Linked DNA regions of Homo sapiens: all the other regions are linked to region 4. The links are contacts of gene promoters, found by promoter capture Hi-C in blood cells and fetal thymus (Javierre and others, 2016). All regions are on one chromosome and are shown on one strand. The core of a region is centred on a gene start or on the middle of the fragment in contact, and the rest is flanking DNA. Distances in the headings are between cores, read along the strand shown. Region 1 has its middle 37 kb from the start of ATG10. Region 2 overlaps ATG10 (autophagy related 10). Region 3 overlaps ATG10 (autophagy related 10). Region 4 holds the start of ACOT12 (acyl-CoA thioesterase 12).

What was found. The method cuts DNA at HindIII sites, captures the fragments that hold promoters and counts their contacts. A CHiCAGO score of 5 or more calls a contact.
Region 1: a contact is called between a fragment that was not itself captured here and the fragment with the promoter of ACOT12 in region 4, in 1 of 17 cell types (erythroblasts). The highest score is 5.6, in erythroblasts.
Region 2: a contact is called between a fragment that was not itself captured here and the fragment with the promoter of ACOT12 in region 4, in 8 of 17 cell types (total CD8 T cells, naive CD4 T cells, total CD4 T cells and 5 more). The highest score is 9.1, in total CD8 T cells.
Region 3: a contact is called between a fragment that was not itself captured here and the fragment with the promoter of ACOT12 in region 4, in 5 of 17 cell types (non-activated CD4 T cells, M2 macrophages, naive B cells and 2 more). The highest score is 6.7, in non-activated CD4 T cells.

What each region holds. Positions count from the first base shown.
Region 1 is chr5:81,931,468-81,937,737 of GRCh38, reverse strand. No RefSeq gene overlaps it. Among named protein-coding and RNA genes, the nearest start is that of ATG10, 37 kb to the left of the region's middle. The HindIII fragment of the contact is 782 bases long and covers 1,839-2,620 here.
Region 2 is chr5:82,174,659-82,180,918 of GRCh38, reverse strand. ATG10 (autophagy related 10) reads right to left here. Exons shown (of 8, transcript NM_031482.5): 5 at 2,332-2,429. Among named protein-coding and RNA genes, the nearest start is that of RPS23, 100 kb to the left of the region's middle. The HindIII fragment of the contact is 516 bases long and covers 2,619-3,134 here.
Region 3 is chr5:82,150,536-82,156,658 of GRCh38, reverse strand. All of the region lies in intron 3 of ATG10 (autophagy related 10), which reads right to left. Among named protein-coding and RNA genes, the nearest start is that of RPS23, 120 kb to the left of the region's middle. The HindIII fragment of the contact is 3,225 bases long and covers 1-3,194 here.
Region 4 is chr5:81,390,889-81,397,093 of GRCh38, reverse strand. ACOT12 (acyl-CoA thioesterase 12) reads left to right here and starts at 2,960. Exons shown (of 15, transcript NM_130767.3): 1 at 2,960-3,106. The coding sequence starts at 2,980. The HindIII fragment of the contact is 6,480 bases long and covers 1-6,205 here.

The DNA of each region.
Region 1 (6,270 bases), core at 980-3,479, 540 kb before region 4:
GAGTGAGACTCAGTCTCAAAAAAAATAAAAAATTTAAAAAAAGAACATTTTATATATCCATATATATATATATATATATATATATATTTTTTTTTTTTTTTTTTTTTGAGATGGAGTTTTGCTCTTGTTGCCCAGGCTGGAGTGCAATGGCGTGATCTCTGCTCACTGCAACCTCTGCCTCCTGGGTTCAAGCGATTCTCCTGCCTCAGCCTCTCAAGTAACTAGGATTACAGGCATGCACCACCACGCCCGGCTAATTTTTTGTATTTTTAGTAGAGACAGGTTTTCTCCATGTTGGTCAGGCTGGTCTTGAACTCCTGACTTCGGGTGATTCACCCACCTCCACCTCCCAAAGTGCTGGGATTACAGGCGTGAGCCACTGTGCCTGGCCAAAAGTACATTATTTAAACTGATAAAGAATACAATAGTGATCCATAGTGAACAGACAAACCCAAAGCATGCCATAAAAGAGTATAAATGGGTTTTGGTGCTAGCACCATGTTAGAATTGCAAAAACAAATAAGATGGAGTCCTTGCCCTCCAAGAGTTTAGAGTATAGCAGAGTGACAGACATTTGAATAGATCATTGGAATGCATGTGAGAAGTACTGTAATACAAATAGATAAAGTTTGATGGACACACATGAAAAGGATCCTAATCTCAAGTGTAAGGGGCAGGGTAGTGGGGTGGAAAGGAAAATTCACTGGAGGATATGGGTACATGACAATTTGAGCTGCCTTCTGAAGGATGAGTAGGAGTTAGCTTCTATCTTGCAAGCATATTTTATAATCAAGAGCAATAAATCACTCAGACAGCAGTTATGTTGCATTTTTATTGAGAACAGTTCCAATAGTGCCCTTTATTTGACCTATCATAACACTTGTCATGCTGTATTGTAATTACCTGTGCTCTTGTCTATTTCTCTACTAACCTGTCAACTCTGTGGTAACAGGAACCATGTCAGTCCTGGCCATAGTTGTATTCTTGGCATCTAGCACAGTGCCTGGCACAGGGTGATAAATAAATGTTTGCTAAACGAGAGAACAACATCAAAAACATTTTACACATAGACATTAGAAATAACTGCTGGAGAAACAATCTTGACAATTAGTTAAAATACTGTTAAACTTTACAGGCAGCCTGTATATAATCTATTTTTAGTCAGTACTTATGGTAGTAAAGTCGTAAAGCTTGTATCTTTGATCTGCTATAAAAAATCCAGAGATTCAACTACTGCTTCCTAAATAGAAATGCAAAAGACATTAAGAGTAATGGTGTTCTTATCTCTTTTTCATAAAAAAGAAGGGTTAATTTCCAAACTTTTCACTTTCCCTTTAAGTTAACTGGCAAGGATGCCTTTTTTAACATCCAGATGTTTAAAGGGAACTATTACATGCTACAACATAACAGGAAGGAGAGGTTGAAAGGGAATCTAATATCCCTGTTTTCACCCAAGAAGCAATAAACTTCACCTTGAGGGTTAACGCTTTATGATGCATGGAGACTTACTGTGGTCACATGTAAAACAACATCCCACTCTATAAAGGACACTGGTGTTTGCAATAAATTAAATCCTAAATAGATGATAGCAGTGGTTCTCAAACATTACAGTGCATCAGAATTACCTCAAGAAATTGTTAAACACAAATTTCTGGGTACATCCCCTACCCCTCTTCCTCCTTCCCCAGCCCCCGTGTTTCTGAATTAGTAAGTAGATCTGAGGTGAGGCCAATAATGTATATCTCTAACAAGTTTTCATGTATGCTAAGGCTGCCTTTTGAGGGCTATCCATTGATAGCAACTGGACTACAGCAACTCCTCATTTTTTTACCAAAGCTTTAGTGATTTCACTTATTAGTATATCCTTCCACTCTTCCTTTAAGTTTAAATAGCAATCCTCATCTTAGAAAATTCAGGATTTTCTTTAATAAATTTTTCTATTTGGGAATCCCTTAGTATTACTCAGATATAAATAGTCATTTATCATTGTAATAAACATATATTTTTACTGCATCCCCTTGAAAATAGGATGGGAAAGTGAAAGGTTAGAATTAGAGTATGATAAAATGGTAAGATCAAGATTTAGGATTTCCTTTTCTGGCAATATGGCAGTTTAAATAACCTGAAAATTACTATGAAAATATAAGAATTGCTGAAAAAAATTAACGCTCTAATTGAGAGGCAGTGTTTTTTAATGATTAAAACATAGACTTTCGAATCACATGCCTGGATTTGGTTACCTAGTCTGCCACTTTATAGCTGTGGGACTTTGGGCAAGTTAATTAACTTATCTGTGGCAGTTTCCCCATCTGTAAAGTTGGGAAAATATTATTACATGCCTTACAGAGGGTTATATGAGAATTAAGTTTAAAATGTTTAGAATAATATCTGGCCCATTCTGTATATTCTGTACAAGTGTTAGCTACTCTTATTATTATTGTTGTTGTTGTTATCATCATATTGTTATCTGCCAAAAAAATATGGGAATATGCAGACATTTAAACTAAAATAGAACATGAAACCAGTCAAGGCACTGTGGCTTGCAATCTAAGGGCTTGAGTTTTTATGCCTATGTAGAGAGCTGCCTAAAGCTATATTGCCAATAAGAGTCAACGAAGCTTCCATTCACCAGATAAGAAAGCTAGTTTACTTTGGGCTGAGTTCTGAATAGAAAAAGTCTCCCTCAGAAATCTATAACCATAGGCCTTTGATTCCCAGACTATGGACTTCAAATTTATACTACTCTCTACTCCTGGAGCCCTTCAAACTGAGAAATCAGCATAAAAAGTAATCCTGGGCTACTGATATCCCTTGGACACCTCAAAGAAGAAAATTCAAAACCTCTCTAAAGAGATACCCCTGAACTAGACTATCCAGGATTTCTGTAGATCAAACTTCTCTGAAAATGAGCCTCAAAATCTAAATTTACAAAACATATGTGAAAATAATGCACTATGAATTAGAGTCTGCGGAAAAATAAATCGTAAGATTCAGCCTTAAGAATTTCATTATATAATAGAAAAACCTAATAGAGACTATGACATAAAATGTGATAATATAGTAAGGATGTTTAAAAATACAGATTCTATTGTTAAAATTGAGAAATTATTAAAAAAAGAAAAGGTTGATAAAACATATAATTTTAAGAAGCAAAAAAAGAATGCTTGTGATTTTTACACATTGATTTTGTGTCCTGAAAGTTTGCTGAAGTTGTTTATCAGCTTAAGGAGATTTTGGGCTGAGACGATGGGGTTTTCTAAATATACAATCATGTCATCTGCAAACAGAGACAATTTGATTTCCTCTTTTCCTAATTGAATACGCTTTATTTCTTTCTCCTGCCTGATTGCCCTGGCCAGAACTTCCAACACTATATTAAATAGGAGTGGTGAGAGAGGGCATCCCTGTCTTGTGCCAGTTTTCAAAGGGAATGTGTCCAGGTTTTGCCCATTCAGTATGATATTGGCTGTGGGTTTGTCATAAATAGCTCTTATTATTTTGAGATATGTCCCATCAATACCTAATTTATTGAGAGTTTTTAGCATGAAGGGCTGTTGAATTTTGTCAAAGGCCTTTTCTGCATCTATTGAGATAATCATGTGGTTTTTGTCTTTGGTTCTGTTTATATGCTGGATTACATTTATTGATTTGCGTATGTTGAACCAGCCTTGCATCCCAGGGATGAAGCCCACTTGATCATGGTGAATAAGCTTTTGATGTGCTGCTGGATTCGGTTTGCCAGTATTTTACTGAGGATTTTTGCATCGATGTTCATCAGGGATATTGGTCTAAAATTCTCTTTTTTTGTTGTTTCTCTGCCAGGCTTTGGTATCAGGATGATGCTGGCCTCATAAAATGAGGTAGGGAGGATTCTGTCTTTTTCTATTGATTGGAATAGTTTCAGAAGGAATGGTACCAGTTCCTCCTTGTACCTCTGGTAGAATTCGGCTGTGAATCCATCTGGTCCTGTACTTTTTTTGGTTGGTAGACTATTAATTATTGCCTCAATTTCAGAGCCGTTAGAATGGCAATCATTTAAAAGTCAGGAAACAACAGGTGCTGGAGAGGTTGTGGAGAAATAGGAACACTTTTACAGTGTTGGTGGGACTGTAAACTAGTTCAACCATTGTGGAAGACAATGTGGCGATTCCTCAAGGATCTAGAACCAGAAATACCATTTGACCCAGCCATCCCATTACTGGATATATACCCAAAGGATTATAAATCATGCTGCTATAAAGACACATATGTTCATTGCGGCACTATTCACAATAGCAAAGACTTGGAACCAACCCAAATGTCCATCAACGATAGACTAGATTAAGAAAATGTGGCATATATACACCATGGAATACTATGCAGCCATAAAAAAGGATGAGTTCATGTCCTTTGTAGGGACATGGATGAAGCTGGAAACCATCATTCTCAGCAACTGTCACAAGGACAAAAAGCCAAACACCGCATGTTCTCATAGGTGGGAATTGAACAATAAGAACACTTGGACACAGGAAGGGGAAAGTCATACACAGGGGCCTGTCTTGGGGTGGGCGTAGGGGGGAGGGATAGCATTAGGAGATATACCTAACGTAAATGACGAGTTAATGGGTGCAGCACATCAACATGGCACATGAATACACATGTAACAAGCCTGCACATTGTGCACATGTACCCTAGAACTTAAAGTATTAAAAAAAGAAGAAGCAAAAAAAATACACTTACTACAATGTCTAATAATCACGGCTAAAGAGACAATTAGTGAACTGGAGGGTAGATCTGAAACAATTACAGAAAATACAGCAACTATGGAGATGGAAAATATGAGAAGAGTAGGGTACCAACGACCTTGGTTTGCCTGGTTTTAGTATTCAAGGTCCCACGTCTCAAGAAACCCCTTTTTCCTGGGCAAATCTGAATGGTTAGTCACTCTATTAACAGATACAAATGAAAGGACAGAATAGAATGAGAAAGTCCAACTTAAGAATTCCAACATGAAAAAATATTAAAAATGGGTAAGAGGAAATACTTGAAGAGATAATGTGGATTTTCCAGAATTGATGAATATGAGTTGTAAGAAAAACAGAATAAGAACTTTAAGATTCAGGGATCACAGATACCAAGAAACAGAAATAAAAAGAAATATACACATCACAGTGAAATTGTAGACCTCAAACATAAAGTGTAACTATTCAGAGTTATCATAGTGAGAAAACAGGTTACCTACAAAGGAACAAAATGTAGACTGGCAGAAGATAATACAAATATCATGTAGAAGTCAATACAATAATAATTTTAAAGGCCTGAGATGAAATAACTTGCCAGATAGATTCTACACCCAGTTAGCATTTGGAAGTTAAGGCAACACCCCCACTCCCACCTCATGATAGGCTATCCTCTCACTCACTGCTGTAGAGGGAGGTAGCATCCCTGCCTGTGGCCGAGCCATAGCCTAGACCAAACTCATGTCTTCACCAGGTGCTGAGAGTCAGCGGGACCTGTGTACCTGCTGAACACCTTTGCCAAGTGCCACTGCTGGTGTCCACCCTAAGCCTCTTTGTACAACAAAGGGAAATCCATAGTAGCCATGGTTGAAAAGAGAGTTTAAACCACATAGTAAGGAAACACCACAGGCTACTCTCAGGAATCTGCCAATAAAAGGATGTTGGAGCCTCGTGATTAATGACAACACAGGAGATAAGAAACCTTGAATTTCATGAATGGAGAGTCAAAGTTGAGGCCTTACCAAACATTAGCCACAATCCTAAAAGGGTTATAGTAAGAGGATGAGAGAGAAAAAAATCTCTGCTGGAAAAAAGAACCATTGAAGGAAAACTCACACTCACAGATCTTGCACGGGGTGAGGGAGAAAAAATTTACCTGGTACAGTCATAAGTACAAACCTGCCCACCCACTGTTTGATATTCACATTAATTTGCATGGTCTAGGACAGTTCACACCAGGTGCTTTTGGCTCAGTGATGCCCCAGAGCATCTGACAGAAGCAAAAGCAAATCCTCATTAGAGAAATGAGGCCGGATGCAGTGGCTCAAGCCTGTAATCCCAGCACTTTGGGAGGCCAAGGCAGGTGGATCACCTGAGGTCAGGAGTTCAAGACCAGTCTGGCCAACATGACGAAACCCCGTCTCTAATAAAAATACAAAAATTATCTGGGCCTGGTGGTGCACATCTGTAGTCCCAGCTACTCAGGAGGCTGAAGCAGGAGAATCGCTTGAACCCAGGAGGTGGAGGTTGCAGTGATCCAAGATCATACCAC
Region 2 (6,260 bases), core at 1,627-4,126, 780 kb before region 4:
CAAAATCTTGTTCTTATGTCATGGGTCAGAACAAAGACACGTGGAATTAAAATATAAAATATCACAGACCACTAGAAATTGTGCTATATACAGGCCTGCATTAAGGAGATTAATTATCTGCTAGAGGCAGAAAAGGAAAATGGTAAGAACTGGATTCAAGAGTATAATGGAATTGAGAAAGAGTTGATAAATGGGTGTAAAGTTAAATACACATATATTTTTGAATATATTTTTCCTCTATCTTTTGCCATCTTTCTTGACTCTTACAACCAAACATTTTCTGGGTCTTGTGGATAAGGACTCTACAATACAAATTTTTGTACAGTTTGTGGCCACTGACAAGACACTAGAAGCTGGAACTCTTAGCACTCATCTTGACATACTTAAAGGTTAATCCAAAATAGTTTGTATAAAATAAAATGTTCTTGCCAAATCTTTAGGGTTGGTTTTCTCATATTTCACATTATCCTTCTTCACAGCACCACCAATGCCTGGTCTACAGATTTGGATTTCAGAGGGGCAATTTTTGTGAGTTGAAGTGGTTTCAGAGAAGGGAATGTATGAGAGGACAGGTAGTAACAGGTAATGCATACAGAAAAATGAGGGAAGGCATTAGATCTAGAAAAGATCACAAGAACAAACTGCACAAGAGGAGTATAGAGAGATGAATAACCATATTTGGCAAGAGCTGTATAGAGCAGAGGAGTAGAAGATAAACCTAGAAGAGCAGGTTGGAACCAGGGAGTGGCAACCTCTGATGCCCAGGCAAAGCATTTAGACCACATCCCATAGGCCCTCGGAGAACTATTGCAGGTTTGAGCACAGGTAAGTAAGCACAGCAGTGGTTAAAAAGATATGACTACAGGTAAGGGGCAGAGAGGAAAGGAGCAGAAAACCACAGGTAAGAGGCTTTACTAATTGTTCCACGTGAGGTCAGAGGGCTTGATCTAGGAGGGTGACAGTGGGAAGAGAAAAGATTAATTTGAGGGGCAGTGTGAAAGATACAAATACCTAAAGCTAGTTTTGTCCTCAATTAAAACCTAGAAAATGGTCATTGTTAAAGAACCACTTACAAGATGCTAAGGATTCTTATGTTGATTGGGAGGTAAACTGTCATTATGATCAAACACATAAGAGGGCATAAAAATTCTAATAACTGATAAACTCATTTTTAAAGGAAGCTTTCATTAGCTGAACAGAAGCTTGGAAAAAATAATATTTTTGATATAAGTAAAAATTATTTTTAAGGAGATGATGATTGGTTGCAAGGTGATGAGTAGTTTTAAATTTCCAAAATAACTACTGATTTTAGCAAGGCAGTAATGACTTACATGATTGACAGATCTATTTCCTTTACTTTTGCAAATCTACTTTTTATATCTACTTTTGCAGATCTATTTTCTCTACTTTTGCAAATCACTATTGCAACCATATTATTAATCAAAAGCTCTTCTTTTTTGCAAATGTATTTATGAGTAAAACTGTAAAACAGTATAGATTACATAAGCCAAATCATCTATTTCTTAATATATAAGCCAACTTAGTTTCTATTTTCATTTGCTTAATACATTTTTATTGAGCACATACTACATGATAAGTACTGTTTTGGTGCTGCATGTACAATGAAGAATAAAAGAGACATGGTCTGCCTATATGAGAGCTCACAGTACAGACAGTCCCAGACTTAGGATGGTCCAGCTTAACAATTTTTAGACTTTATCATGGTGCAAAAGTGATACATCTTCAAGAGAAACCATATTTTGATACCTATACAACCATTCTGTTTTTCACTTTCAGTCAAGTATTCAATAAATTGCATGAAGCTATTCAATATTTTATTATAAAATAGGCTTTGTGTTAGATGATTTTGTCCAACTGTAGGCTAATGTAAGTGTCCCGAGCACATTTAAGGTAGGTTAGGCTAAGCTTTCATGTTTAGTAGATTAGGTGTATGAAATGCATTTTCTACTTCAGATATTTTCAACTTACGATGGGTTTATCAGGATGTATTCCCATTGTAAGTCAAGGAGTATCTGTATAGTGGAGAAGACAGACATCAATTTTTTTAAATCATCCTAATATGTAATTTAAAATTGGAATAAGCATTCTAAAGGATAATTATAGGGCACTCTGAGAGCTTATAATAGGGTGGCTAAACCAAGACTGGGTCTGGGAAGGTTTTTTTTTAAGGAAACTGTCTTTGAGGTGAAATATGTAAAGATATAGACAAGTGAAATAGGGAAAAGAGTTGGAGAGGGAACTAGCAGAAAAGATGAGCAGCGGGAAAGAATACAATAACATGCATACAATAAAATGACAATACTCTCCAACCTGTTGCGTAATAGTGTCCCATGGTCCCTGTAGCAGTCGCATCTTATAGCACTCATGAACTCCTTCCCATATGTCCTTCAGAGTTAAAGGTCTCCCATCTGTGAAAGTGCATGGTAAAGACTGAGTTAGTAATTCATGTGACACAATGGTGCTTGGTGTCAATCTAAAACTCCTGGAAGAATATCATGACTTTTAGAAAGATCTTCAGTGCACATGCTATTTATATATCAAGAGAGTGCTATATGAATTACTATTTTCTTCCTGAGGGAAATTTAAACATTCAAGCTTCTCAGCTTTGTATCCATCTAGCATTTAAATTGTCTGCTCATTCATTGCCTCTAGGAATTTTACAAAATAAATAAAATCCAAATGTGTTTTAGAGAGAACTGACAGATGCAAGCACAGGCAAAGGAACCAACAGACTCCCATATTCATAAAGGTGCACCATGAATACTCTGAATCCTTCATACTTACTCTAGTCCTTAAAACAAAGAAGCCATACCCATGCATCTTTCACATTCTCATGGAGTATCTATAATGTCCAAATCACTCCATCAGGTACCATGGAGAATAGAGAGAAGAAAAACACGCAATTTCTCCTAACAAGGAGCCTAACATCTACTGAGGAAACTATGACAAGTATATTACAGTAGAGTGGTCTCTGCCTGAAGAAGACTGAAGCTCACTGATGGTCCAAGGAAGAGAGATATTAACACTTGGTGTCTATGGCAGGTGGAGAAAGGGACTCTTGGGGTGGGGAAGGACAAGAGAACGGGGTTGGCATGAAGAGGGCAGTAAAAGCTTTATTGAACAATAATGCTCTTTTTCTTTAAGTTGTTTCAATTATCCCTCTGTATCCACCCAAACAATGTATTTTACAAAGACCACTATGGCACTTACATTATACACAAGGTAAGTAAAGTGGAAAAATAGGTATCTAAGTTCTGAAAAGAAAGCAGAAAGAAGAAGTCACCTAAAGATTTCAAACCATACACTACTGGAAAGAAGGTGTCTTAATGCTAGAATCCAATATAACTTGATCCATTCAGAGCTATAAGGCCCTCAAGACTTATGGGCGTGCTCTTTTGGGCTAATGGATGATATCACTTAAAGATATTTCACATAGCAATATACTGAATATTTAGACCAAAGAAGTATTTGGTCATCAAGGGCAACAAAGCATAAGGAAAATAATCTACTCAAGAGCTCCAAAAATCACTGTATTAAGACTTTCAAGTATAAGTAGAAATGTATGATGTTGGGGGAAAAAGCACTAGATTTGGAATCTGGACTAAGTTTTAAATCCTGGTGTTGGCACTTACTCTCCATGTGAGTGCAAATTATTTTGCTTTTAACTTTACCTGCAAAATGAGAATAATGATCCTTTCTGGGTATTGTTCTTTTGAGGCTTACATTAGTGAATGCACCCAGGACTGTGTTAGGCACACAATAAGAGCTCAATAAATATCAGGAATCTCCTCCCAGCCCTCACACAATTATTCCAGTAATTCTCAAACCTAAAAGATTCATTTCTAGACTGTTATTTCTTAGAATTTTCCCATGTTGCTATACCGTGCATATCATCTTTGATATAGTACCATACTAATATTATAAGCAGGGCATTTCTCATGTTTGACCTAAAAAGTTGAACTTTTCCTCAACCTTTATTTTCAATAAATAGCAATAGAATATTTTGATACATTTTCAATAAGTATCTTCATCTTGGCATTTATCTAGCGGCAGGAGACCATTATCTTGTGATAAATAGTTTTATTCCATTGACATTTCCATGTCTGTAAAATGAACAAGATTTATTCATCCAATTAACATTTGAATGTCATGTTTAGCTACAAGTTAAAAACAAGCTGCCTTCAGTATCTGTGTTATATTGTTTTCTGAACACATTTACAGAGTAGGGCCAAACTCTGCTCTTAAGCACTATGCATCTTTGAAATATGCAAATGCCATGCATGCATATGTGTATGTGTGTGCGTGTGTCTGTGTGCGCATGCGTGTGTGTGTGTATTGGTGTGGGAAGAGGCAAATAAGATCTTAAGAACTTTAGTGTCAAATAGTAAACTAATCAAATTACAGAACGACATGCTTTTAAAATAATTTTTACACGTCAAAGTTAGAAGTAAACAAATACCTGTAGTAGGATAATAAAATGTTAGAGCTAGTATAACCACTAATTTTATAAATAGGGCAGCCAAGGTCTTACGAAATATGTATCTGCCAAAAGTATGCAGCCGGTTCATGACTGAACTGAAGTCTGAATCCAGATCTCAGGACTCACCAATGCTCTTCCTGCTGGTCCACGCTGCCTCTGAGGGCAGAGGCACTGCAAATGCTTTACAAATATTTACTGAGCAAATGATAAATGATGAAAAAATGCCTTCCTTAACTTTATTTCTATTACCATAAAGCTTTTCAGACCTAGAGAAGAATGCTGGGTTTCATATCTGGTAATCAGTAATGATTTTAATTTTATTCCTTAAAGTATTTCAGGCAACAATGTAAGTATGGAGTAAATGGTTTGGATAGAAGTTAATTTTAGAAGTAGATGTTTTATATAATTGGGCACCTACTATATGCCAGGCATCTGTTCCAAGCCTTTGTGATACATCAGTGAGCAAAACAATCATCCTTGTTTTCATGGAGGTTACATTATGCCTTGGGGTGTGTGTGTGTGTGTGTGTGCGTGTGTGTGTGTGAAAATAAACAATAAACACAATAAACAAGTAAACTGTATATTATCTTAGGAGGTGATACATACTATGGTGAAAACGAAAAGTAAAGCAGGCTAAGAAGTGCCAGCCAGAGGTGGGTTTGCAATTTTAGACTTTAGTGAGAAAGTAACTTGTGTGCAAACACTGGGAGGCACAGCGTTCCAGGGAGAGGTGCCAACCAGTGGAAAGACCACCAGGGCTGGGTAGGGGATCACTAGCACTACATGCATATCACTAACATTCGTCACTTAAAGCCAATGACTAAAAAAAAACACACATAACTTTATCAAGATATAATTCACGTACATACAATTCACCCATGTGAAGTGTACAATTCAGTTATATTCGTAGAGTTGTGCAATCATCACCTCAATCAATTTTAGAACATTTTCATCACCTTAAACAACAACAACAGCTGGGCACAGTGGCTCACGCCTGTAATCTCAGCACTTTGGGAGACCCAGGTGGGAGGATTATTTGAAGCCAGGAGTTTGAGACCAGCCTGGGCAACAAAGTGAGACTCCATCTTTACAAAAATGTGGCTATATAGGGAAGGGCAGAGACAAGAGGCCAGGAAAGTATTTACCTCAGTGGAGTCCTTTAGCTGCAATCCCAATGAGGCCTGGCAAAGCTTTATTTCTTTTTCTTCAGAATAAGCACTATTTTCTTCTCACCCCAACTTTCTAAACCAACTTGCTTGCTTTTGATTGTTGTAACCAGAGCTTTGTTTGAAAAGTAGACTCTTCAAATGAGGAAACCAATGGAAAAATTGGTAATATAACAGTGCAAGTCTGTTATACATCCACAATGATGCAACTGGTTGAGATGGCTTAGACAGTCGTGACCTCCATGAATACCCTCTCCAAACCATGGTCTCCAACTTCCAAAATCTAACCCCCTTAAAAAAACTGAGGAAGGTCAACAAGCAATTATAATACCATTGTTAAAATATCTGCTTCTTCTAGGCCCATAACGGCTATCTCAAGGGCCACTGCAGTCTCTTTAGCACCTATTGAAGTTCTGTGTTTGGCACCCCCTGCTGGTGGCATGCTAGGCCTGGTGGGACTACATGTTTTTAAAACAAGCATATCAGGTCTTAAATATTCAAAAGACCACTGTTCCTCAAAACAGTCACCTAGGGAGGTTACCTGATTATTCAGCAAATTCAACCAATATTTATTCCAACAATGCTGTAATTCT
Region 3 (6,123 bases), core at 333-2,832, 760 kb before region 4:
TGTTACCCTTTACATGTGACATAAGAAAGGCCAGCATCAACTCTAACAGTTTACAGTTTTTCTAAGCCTATTGATGTACATCATGTAATTTGTTCCTCTGCTCTAGGAGGAAGGCCCAAGGTCTCCAGCAAGTAAGAAACTGAGCCAGGGCACAAAACTAAGCCTTCAGGCTCCAAGTCCAGGGTTCTTTCTAGCCTGCAAAGACCATCAGATTCTTGGTGGTGAGAAATGTTAAACAGACGTATTCCTGGCCTCCACCCCCAAAATTCTAATCCAGGAGTTCTGGGATGGGTTTTAAGACTTCACCTTATAAGCAGTGTTCCTGGTGATGCTATGCAGGTCTTGCCTCACATACACATGGAGGGTCTACTTTGTGATTCTTTACTTTTGTAGTCTATGGAATTATAAAGTCAGGAAACTCATTCACCAAGACCCAGAATTATGCCATAAACCGGTTTGCCTTCACTAGCTGCTCATCTATGTTTTGAGAACCACCGTTACTTCATTTGGTCTCCTCTCGGAGGGAGCCTAAATGCACTTCCATTAACCTAAGACCTCAGCTTATCACCCCCCACTCCCAGTTTATTGCCCCATTCCTTCATCTTCTCCTATATAAAAATTTCCTTCATTTTGTCCTTTTCCTTCTAATTGGTTAGTTAATTCTTGCTAAACTATTAATGGCCATTAGTGGCTTAATATGTTACTCCTTTATCAATTATTATATTCAACAGTAGATTTGTGGCTGATAACCCTAATCAAAAGGAATCTTTAATAATGGAATTTGGAGTGCCAAAAAGGAATAAATTTTGCACCACACATGTAACCACCAATCTGTGAAACTTGCCTTATAAGGCAGTCTATGTTTTAACTCCAGAGCCAGAAAATTCTTCCTTGTTACCTTGCTAGAAAGTAAATCAGTTTCCACTAGATTTATCCTTGCAGAAGATTAAGAACAAAGAGTCATTATTTTTATATAATATGAATAAATTTATTTGTTCCCCATATTGAATAAGCCCAGTTTCTCTAATTTTTCTTATATCTCTAGTTCCACAGATCTCCAAACATTTTTCTAAAGGGCCAAGTAGTAAATATTTTAGGCTTCTGTGTGGGCCATAGGTCTCTGCAGCTGCAGCCTGAAAGCAGCCACTGGCAACATGTAAACAAAGGTACGTGGCTGTACTCCAGTGACATTTTATTTACAAAAACAAGCTGTAGTCCATAGACCTTAGTTTGCCTACCCCTGAAAATCCTAATTTTAAGGCCTTCTTTAATTTCATTTTATTATATTTTTACAAGCACTAAACAGAATTTTATTAAAGGACTTGTATCTCCATTTGGTGAACTCTTTCCCCTTTCCATTTTTTTCCTGTCTTAGGATGTTACATTACATTTCCAAGGGTCTAAGAAATTCTGAGCCTTAAAAGGACAATGATAATTAAATCCAATGGGCTGAAGTTTGGCTAAAGTCATTTTCTAAAGTAAGAGATAGCACTACCCTAATTTAAACAAGTGAGATTTTTAAATGTCTTGATGAATAAACTGCAAGTTCCTTCAGCACATGAATAAACTTCTACACTCAAATTCAGAACTGAGTAAATTTCTCTGCCAAAGAGTGAAAATGATAAAGCCTTCATAAACAGACCAAGAGGCAAGCATTGTAGGAATGTTAGAGGACTGTGAATCCTAAAGCACAGGCCCTCTCACACATGCACAAGAAACAGCATGTCTAGGAATCAGCAAGGAACTGTTTCAGTAAGCCATGAGTTCCTTCCCTTGCTCAAAACTGTCTCTGGATTATATGGATATGAATAAGGATTTATTTGTTTCTTTGCTTGGTTTTTACCAGGAGAATCCCTTTAAGATTTCCACAAGTATCTATGACGTGCCAGGCACTATGCTTGTGCTGGGACAAAGATGTGGTTGTTGCTTTTAAATAATACTATAATATTTCAGCAGTAATGAGAGCAACATTAAGCTCTCAGCTTTCTATTGGGATTCAAGGAGACACTCAAAATCTCGGATAAAAACACATAGACTTCAGAGAAGCATAATATAGGCAAAAATAAAAAAGCACAGAATTTGGAGCTAGATGTGGGTTCAATCCCTGGCTCTGCCACTCATGGAATGGACAGGTCATTTGACCCCTCTATGCCTCAGTTTCTTCACTTGTTAAATAAAGGCATCTTTCCCTTGTGATTAAATGAGATAATGTATAAAATGTGTATATCTGGCACATAGGTATACTAATTAATCATACATTCATTCAAAAAATGTTATAGGATACACTAAATATTCTAGATCAAAGGTGTCCAAACATTTTCTTAAAGAGCCAGATAGTAAATATTTCAGGCTTTGGGCATCATAAGTCTCTGTCAAAACCACTCAACTTTGCCACTGCAGCATGAAAACAGCCTAGATAATATGTAAATTAATGAGTGTGGGTTTGTTCCAATAGTGCATCATTAATGAACACTAAAATTTAAATTTCATATTATTTTAATGTCATAGAATATTATTCTTTTTAAATTCTTTTTTTAACCATATAAAAATATAAAAACCATTCTTAGCTTGTGAGCTGTACAGAAATACACAGCAGGCTAGGTGCTGTGGCTCATGTCTGCAATCCCAGCGCTTTGGGAGGCTGAGGCAGGAGGATTGCTTGAGCCCAGGAGTTCAAGGTTGCACACTGCACTCCAGCCTGGGTAACAGAGTGACACCCTGTCTCTAAAGAGAAAAAAAAAAAAAAAATAGGCAGCAGGCCACAGTTGCCATCGTCTGCTCTAGACACTGTCCTGGGGCCTGGGAATAGAAGAGATAACAATAATAGATATTATGTCCTAATATAAGGAAATACATTAAAAAATAATCACACAAAGAGCTATAAAATTATAATTACAACAAATACTATTAGAGAAAATGCACAGAGTCCCCAAGTACATAAAATTTTACCTCCAAATCTATGAATTTTGTTTGTGAGATTTTAATTTTTCTTTTTCAGCTTCATTCAAGTGTAAACCAGTTTTATGTAGCACTGATCATTTTAGTATCCTAATCACCCTTAACCAAGGCTTATTTTAGTTCAATGATCACAACACCCACCCAGATAGATTTTCAGGAACTGTTTTTGTCCAAGTTTACCAGATTGCCTAATCACTTAGAATCTGTCACCCCTGTCACCTCTGATTATCCAAGCTTCTTCCCGATAAACTCTTGCTGCAGCCCACTAAAAAGTGTCTGCCTACACTTTCTGTTGCCCCCAGCAATAGTTTCTGCTTGAGAATGCCCCACAAGTTTTTTTCTCAGCTTTACAAATAACTCACTTATACATGTGTGCCCACTTGTATATGCATGGACAGCACACATATACATTCAACTAACTAACGTTCACTGAGCATCTACTATGAGCTAGGCATGGTGCCAGCACTGGAGATTTGTTGGCAAACAGATATGGTGTTTGCTCTCAAGGAACTTATAACTACAGAGAGCGTGGGAGAAAAAAACATTGCATAAACAATTATTTGAGTATAATGTTGCAAGTGCTATAAGAATATAAGAATACATCTTGAGGCCTTATCCAGTTGGCAGACTTGGAAAGGCTTCTATTACAGCACACATATCCCTTTGAATGTGAGTGAAGGCAGGGCTTTTGCCTGTCTTATTCACTTACGTATTCCAAGCATCCTGAACTGTACCTGGCAAATAGTAGACATTCAATCAATATTTGTTAAGTGAAATAAATAAGTGGAATGAGTATAAATTGTCTGTTGCCATTTTCATCCTATAAATCAGAGATCTCTAAACTTTTTTTATCATGACACTAGGAGTCAAAAAAGTTAAGCACTCAACCCTAATATGTGTATATTTACCTCTTGATCAATTATGAATATGTATTTCTATATGATATATTTTGTATATTATAAAATACACTAAAATATAAAAATTTTAAGGATAAGACAAAGGTGAAGGAAAAATATTTCAAGGTCATTCTTTTAGTTGGGTGATGATCTGGGTACTAATGAAAGTAGCCCTCCTACCCAGCTCTTTGCTCAGGCACCAAAAGGCCTTGGCTGGCCCTCTACCCTCACCCTTCATTGAGCTTCTTGCCTATTTGGCTCTTAGATTTCTGCGCCAGTGGTTGTGATTGAATAAAGTTGCAGAAATGTTGATTTTAAGGTGCCCATTGAAAAGTTAGCACCTCAAAATGTGACAGATGTAAATAGCAGGCAAATGAGCACACTGTTACCTGGTTTTCCCAGGACTCCACGCTTCAGAGTCAGTGCTGCTGAGCAGCCAGCCAGTCCTGCTCACAGTCGTGGATGATCAGACACCCAAAAATCAAATGTCTAGATCCCATATGCTCAGTAGTCCTGGGGCGGCAGCCTTAATTCAAAGTAGACTCTAAAGAGCCAGAGGTAATTTCCTTTCTCTTCATAAAGAACCCTGTCCTAATCTGCACCAAGTCAAAGAGCCCTGGGTTCCAAATATGTAAATCTATTCAGAAAATAAAATGCTACAGAAAACTAAACTTATTTTATTTAGTAATGGTGCAGACATTTTCTTGCCAGTAGTATTTTGATGAGAGCAATTTGATTGAATATGTAATTTTTTGTTCTTCTTTGTGTGTTTTAAATCTTGACTGTAATATGGCATTTCAAACATCTGGGTTCAGGTCTTTTTACATTGTTTTGATAGGTGATTTTAATGGCTGCAACAGATGAGAAAGATCTACAGATCCATAAAGAGGAAGTATATCACTGGGTGTACTTAGTAAATCATGATCTCATATTTCAATCCCCTTCTCTAGCTGTAAGAGGTTTTATTCAAGTTCTGGATGCCTTTCAATGAGTCGTTAGTCAATGATTGCTTCATACTGTCATTAGGTACAACATACACACAGGTTAAGGGTCATCATTAATAATAGCAAATATAAATCCATATTTCAAATAATCTTAATTTTAAATTTGGAGAGCCAATTTTTGAAAGATCTGATTAGACTGTTGTTTTTACCTTTTACCATTTTTTTTTTTTTTTTGTTCCAGGGATTCTTTGCAGGAAACTTTTAAAGCCCTTAGTCTGAAAAGTAAGAGCTATGTTAACTAAAATTGAATAATATCATCCCAGATATCCAGGGCACAGGTAAACTGCAATGCATAACATGCAATGAAAGGAGTGAAAACATCACTGATAGCTCCTTCCTATCGTCTAGGTCCCAGATGCCTTGCATAATTAACCTCTATGGCATCTGGTTATCTGATAAATGCATAGAGTGGCAATGCCAGCATCAATCCACATTTAAATATTAGTAGTAGCTGGGCACAGTGACTCATGTCTGTAATACCAGCACTTTGGGAGTCTGAGGAGGGAAGATTGCTTAAAGCCAGGAGTTCAAGACCAGCCTAGGCAATATAGCAGGACCTCATCTCTCTTAAAATAAAAATTATATTAAAATTTTCAAAAAGTTAAATATTAGTAGAGCCTAACTTTCACAAAATCAAAGTAAATATAAATTATAGTTGTAATGTTATTTCTCACATCTCAATGGATTGTTTTGCAAGCCCTCTGGGGGCATGCATTCACTTTAAAGACTCTATGCTGGTGACCAAGACCATTATTAAACAAAATTATGAAGGCAAAATTGATCCTTGGCATCTTCCACATCTTGCTTTTCATGGCCTTGCTCTCCTCTTTCAGCACAAAGCTCTTAAATCCAGCCCTCTGATCTGAAATTCACAGGCCACCTGATGAACTTACCAATACTAAATGTTACAATCTGGATATATTAATCCTACTAAGATTCTTTGGCTTTTAGGAAGAGGTTCTCTGAACATGGAAATCTTAATGAGTCACTGATCATGCAGTTTCTGTTACAGAGCCTGCAGTCTGTGGGGCAGTGACAATGGCTTCTCTGGCACCCTTTGGAACACAGCCTGTGGGTAATTGCCTACTGTACTGAGGAAAGGCCAGCCCTGTGGACGACTGTGTGAAGGGGGATATGGATATCACCAGTGCCTCACGATCGCTTTCTCTGAGGTGACAGAAATTATTCCTGGAAGGAGCTATGTTTGACTTCCAAATGCTGGACCCTCATGTCTCCCTGTTCCCAAGCCTGGGCATTGGACTACT
Region 4 (6,205 bases), core at 1,711-4,210:
ATTTTTTCTTTTCTTTTCTTTTCGAGACAGGGTCTCACTGTGTCACTCAGACTGAAGTGCAGTGGCCCAATCATGGCTCACTGCAGCCTCGACCTCCTGGGCTCAAGCAATCCTCCCACCTCAGCCTCCCAAAGTAGCTGGGACCACAGGCATATGCTACCTTTCCTGGCTAATTTTTAAATTTTTTTTTTTTTTTTATAGAGACAAGGTCTCTCTATGTTACTCAGGCTGGTCTCAAACTCCTAGGATGAAGTGATCCTCCTGCCTCAGCATCCCAAAGTGCTGGGATTATAAGCATGAGCCAACACTCCCGGCCTGAGATTCTGCATTTCTAAGAGGATCCTAGGTGAGGCTGAGGCTGCTTACCTGGGGACTACACTTTGATGCCCCTACCAGTGCTTTCTGCAATTTCCTCCCAAATAAACTGTCTGCTCTCAAATTCTTGTCAGAGGCTCTGTTTCTGGAGAAAGCATTTTTTTTTCTACCTCTCTACTTATATTCCAGGTTCCTTGTTCTTAGTTTTCACAAAACCCAGCCACTACCTTACAATGTGACCCAAGGAAATCACTTCATTTCCTCATCTCTAGAATAAGAGTTTAGACTGTCCAGTTCCCCTTCCCACTCCAGCATTTTAAAGATTTTCTCGTTATTCTAGTGATTGTGGAACTTCCCACACTTTTTTGGATCAGCTTTCCTGCTCCTGTGTACAAACTTTTAAAATCAAGCTGGCTTCACATTCTGCTTATCTTCAAAAATGTCTCTAAACACAAATGAAACTCGACCTTTTATTCAAGCATAATAGTAAAAATCTTTGACACCAGAGAGAAATGGAGGTAACAAATGTTCATGCATGCAGATGACATTTTCATTGTAAAAGGAAGAAAGGGACCATTCAGAAAAACACAAGAATAGTAAAATGAAAATTAGTATGAAACCAACAAAAGATATGAAACCATAATCTGAAGACATCTAAACAGGAGATAATAAAGATAAGAAAACACAGCAGTGAATTTGTGTACCATGTCTGCTTTTAAAGCAACATCTCTAGACAAACACACAAATATACACATGCTGTCCCCTTCAAGAAAATCATTTTGGAAACCCATCCTCTTACACTTATGCGTAAACATTTTTGAAATTTCTTCTTCTTTTTCTTTTTTTTTTTTTTTTTTTTTGAGACTCAAGCTCACTGCAACCTCTGCCTTTTTGGCTCAAGTGATCCTCCTGCCTCAGCCTCCTGAGTAGCTGGGACCACAGGGACACACCACCACGCCCAACTAATTCTTGTATTTTTGGTAGAGAGAGGGTTTCACCATGTTGCTCAGGCTGGTCTTGAACTCCTGAGCTCAAGCAATTTACCTAACCTCAGCCTCCCAAAGTGCTGGGATTATAGGCATGAGCCACTGCGCCTGGCCTAAGTTTCTTTAGTTTATAAGAAACCAAGTATACAACCATACACATAATTCAATATCACCACTTTAGTCACCACTTTTTACCCAAAATAATACAACCCAGCCTAAATGCAAACTTTATTTCCAGTAATTTAATAAACTTCCCAAATATTAATACAGTTCACTCATGTAACTGTCAGCTATTGCTGCATAACAGACAACCCCCAAAATCACAGTGGCACACAACAATAAGTAGTTATGTCTCACTCAAGAGTCTTCATGTCTGCTGGGTTGCTCTGCTTCAGGCTGTGAGTCCTCCGGCTGGCTGAGATGCCTCTGCAATACGTGAATTCAGTCTGGTACCCAGATGCTAATAGGCAGCTACTTGACCTCATGGCAGAGGTCAGATGTTCCTGAGAACAGAAACACGGTGCTTCTAAAGGCAAGACTGGTGGTACACTGCTATCTCTCCACATTCCATTCTTAAGCAAGCCACATGGCCAAGTCCAAGGTCAATAAATGACTCTCACAGAGTTATTGGTAGATGGAGTGAATATATGATAATCTATCAATTCCTAAATTATGATTTCTCAATACAGAAGTCATTAAAAAGGCATTTTCCAAGGAGGAGTGCCAAAAGCGATGTAATAACGTTATCATTGAAATAAGTGTATAGCTACATAATGGGACCATCTTGGATGCACAAGTTTTTGTTTGCTTTTAAAAGTTATTTTAATGCCTTTTATATAAGTCAGACTTCATGCTTGCCTCAGTGAAAACATGCAATTCCTATTTATGATTGGATTGTCCTGAAACCTATACACAGAGGCTCCTAAAAGCTATCAAGTCAACATTTCCTTATTTCTTCACTTTCATTTTAAAAAAAATCTTTTAAAAAGGAAAGAAAAATACCAGAATCTCCATTCTGATGTCGCCATGCTGAGGCTTGGCAAGCCAAAAATATAAGGATGAAAAGGCACCACCAATTCGTGAGAGTCGGCTAGGCTTCTTCGTGCTATTCCGGACAGTCAGGAGCCCTGGGTTCCAGCCAGGTGATCGGGTCGCTTATCGGCTCCTATCACCTCAGCTGCTTGCTCCACTTCTCCGGGTTTCCAGTTCTCCATCGTAAATGTGCTCCCTGGAGCAGCCTCCCCTGACAGTCAGACATCCACCAATCCATTAGATGCTGGAGGTTTTCTGGAGACACTGTTTCCCTAATGAGGACTGCTTTGTACAGTCACTGATAGCAGCTCTAGAAAGTGTAACAGCTTTTTTATCTCAAAAGCTGTTCCTCGCGCTCCGGCTCTCGGGGAGCCGCCTTCCAGACCTGTCTACCCGGGAGCCCCCTCCCCGCGCACTTCCCAGACTTCTCCTGAGACCCGAGAGCGCTGGTTTTCCCCCACTCGCGATAGTCCTGGGATGACAGTGCGGGCCCCCTCACTCGCAGCTCCCACCACCTGGCGGCCAGGGGTTCGCGGCCCGGGCGGGCGGCGCCAGTGCCCTCTGGAGCTGGGCGGGGAGGGCGGGGCGGGCGGAGCGGGCATGGTGGGGTGTCGGGGGCCGCAGGCGTAGCGCTCTCGCCCTGGCCATGGAGCGGCCGGCGCCCGGCGAGGTGGTCATGAGCCAAGCCATCCAGCCGGCGCACGCCACTGCGCGCGGCGAGCTGAGCGCGGGGCAGCTGCTCAAGTGGATCGACACCACCGCCTGCCTGGCGGGTAGGCGGGCGCCGGGGCTGCGGGGAGGCGCGGGACCGGGGCTGCGGGAGCGGCGGCGGCTGGGGGCTGGGGGGGGTAGGAAGGCGAGGAAGGTACTTGCGGAGAGCTGAACCCTGCGCAGCCAGGGATAGGGGTGTTGCAACAGTGCGCCCGCGCTGGGCATGGCCGAGACCGGTGGTTCCCAAATGTGTGGCTCTCGGGACTCCTTCATTCCATTAAACAAGTGAGGAGCCCAGAGAGCTTCTGCGGGGTTTTTTGTTTGTTTGTTTGTTGTTGTTGTTGTTGAGCTCTCTCCCGGGCTGGAGAGCGGTGGCGCCATCAGAGGTCGCTGCAGCCTCGACCTCCTGAGCTAAAGCGATCCTCCCACCTCAGCCTCCAGAGTAACTAGGACCACAGACGCACGCCACCAGGCCCAGCTGACTTTGGGAGTTTTGTTTTGTTTTGCTTTTGTAGAGATGGGGTCTCACTATGTTGCCCAGGCTGGTCTCAAACGCCTGGACTCAAGTGATCCTGAAGTGTTGGGAGGCCCCAGCCTCCCAAAGTGTTGGGATTACAGGCATGAGCCACCGCACCCAGGCAGCTTTTGTTTATGTAGGCTATTTATATCACATTTACCGTAATGGAAATTTAAAATTTTTAATTATTTTTAAAAAAGAAATGGACTACATTGTTAGCATAACATTTTTAATTAAGAAATAACTATTTTCCACAAGAACAAAAGTGTAGCGAGAGGAGTGGTGATAAAGGTTACATCCTGGCGAGTCTCTCTAAGGTCTGGCTAGTGGAGGATTGCTGACTACTCATACCTGCTTCTGCATTCACCCTGCTGCTACCACACCCTTATGTAGTCTCTGGAAAACTCCACTGTGTTCTTGTGACAGAATGACAGTAAAAATGGCAAAAACATTTATTAAGGACTGAATTATATCCCCCACACCACCCACCGAAATTTATACACTGAAGTCCTAACCCCTGGTGTGACTCTATTTGGAGTGAAGAATTAAGGCTAATGAGGTCATAAGAGTGGAATCCTGGTCCCATACAATTAATGTCCTTATAAGAAGAGACACTGGAGAGCTTCTCTCTGCCATGTGAGGCCACAGCAGGAAGACAGCCATCCACAGGCCAGGAAGAGAGCCCTCACTAGGACCTACAATGGGCAAGCACCTCGATTTGGAACTTCCCTGCCTCCACAATTGTGAGAAATCAATGATTCGTTTAAGCCTTTTTTTTTTTTAACAGGATTTGAGATTGGTTATATTAACAATGGAAACATGAATACAAAATTAATCCACACATAGGAAAAAAGAATAATACATAAACCACTGAGGTTGCTAATAATAATGATGCCTGTTTCCAAGGCAACTGAATACATTATGAGACCACTGAAGTGACTTTTAGTTACCTTGCTTAGTGCCTCTGTCTTGTGATGGAGAAACAATGGCCCACCTGCAATTGTCATCATTTCTATGACCTGACATCTTTGGAAACCATGGAAAGATCCAATTGACAATCAATTACTCTATACCTTAATAGTTACATTACTATTAGTAGTATAATATTAATAACTGATAATGTTACTAATATTAAGAAAACCTGTATGATAAAGTTGGTTTGGGCAACATGAATAACGCCTGTGTTAAACACTTTATGGTGACCTGAGGCACCACATAAGCAGGGGACATTATTTAGCCAAGGTGTAACTGAATCTGTGTAGTAATATAAAACTGATTTCTCTGGGATTTTCTCAGAGTTTTTTATAGGCCAGCATTATCTCTTTAGCCACATTACTGCAATCCCAGTCATGGCCCCCAAGGCATTTCTATGACCCCTAGGCACTGCTGGATTCCAAAATGTCTTCTCAATATTTAAAGAAAGATGAAATATTCTCACTATCCTTACTTCTGTCAGTGGCCCCATTATTTTTCCAGTCCCTTAAGTCTAAAGTCTTGAAGCTATCTGAGTAATCCTCTATCTCACACGTCCATGTATTATTTTGGAACATCTCACACACACGGTTTTTTATTTGTGAATCTTTTCCAGGGTTTACTATCTCTGGAGTGGCACCCAACTCATCTAGTTGAGCAAGTCAAAAGTCTAGGAGTCATCCTTGATATTTCTCTCTCCACCTTACTTCTCACTTCACATACTCTATGCATGGAGCAAGTCCTATCAGTGTTACCCCCTAAAGGAGTCTCTGAAATCCAAGCACTTTGCTGCACCCCCATTGCGACCATCTACTCCAAGCTATCATCATGTTTCATGCAGACTTCAGCAGTGATTTCCAAACTCATCTCCATTCGTTCTGGTCTCCTCTCCACACTGCTTCTAAAGTAATCTTTGAAGATGCTAATCTGATTGATCATGTCATATGTTTTGTTCATTTTTCCCTTTCTTTTCTTCACCAAGGGCTTTAAGGATTTTTCTAAGATGTTCAAGTGCTTCCTACTAAAAAATCTCCCACAGATAATAATTATAAACTCTGGGCAAAACACTAAATAAAAGAGACTTAAGGCAGGTGAAAAGTGAACAAAAGTAGGCTTATAACACTTGAAAGTTAACACATGAAAGAACAAAGTGGTGTTGGCTTTTTCTGTGTTTGTTTTATAAATGACTTGAAGCCTGAAAGAAAATGCCAGTCTGCTCCCAGCTATAGTTCTGATGGAAAACCCACAGGCTTGCTGGTTTGAAGAGCCCAAAGACAGGGTTTGGGAAAAGCACAGCTACTGAATGAAATACAAAAGGGAAAGTTCCAGAAAGGAAAGAGCCAGAGAGACAGAGCCCTAAAATCTATCTATAATCTTTTCCCAGATATCTGGCAAATCTTGAATCATGTATACATAGGACAGACTCCAAACCTCCTGGTTGAGGCCAAAAGAACTGAAAATAGTTGTGCCCATCTCTAGGTAGACAGATTATAGTTTTGGTTTGGTCAGGTTAACTGCTTGCTTTAAAAAACAAAACCAAAAACAAAACCAACACTTTTCAGAGAAACACAGTTTCTACAATGGATCACTCACAATGGCTAGGATATTATCCAAAATTACTTGAAATACAGAGGGAAACATGATTTATTCTTAAGAGAAAAGATGATCAATG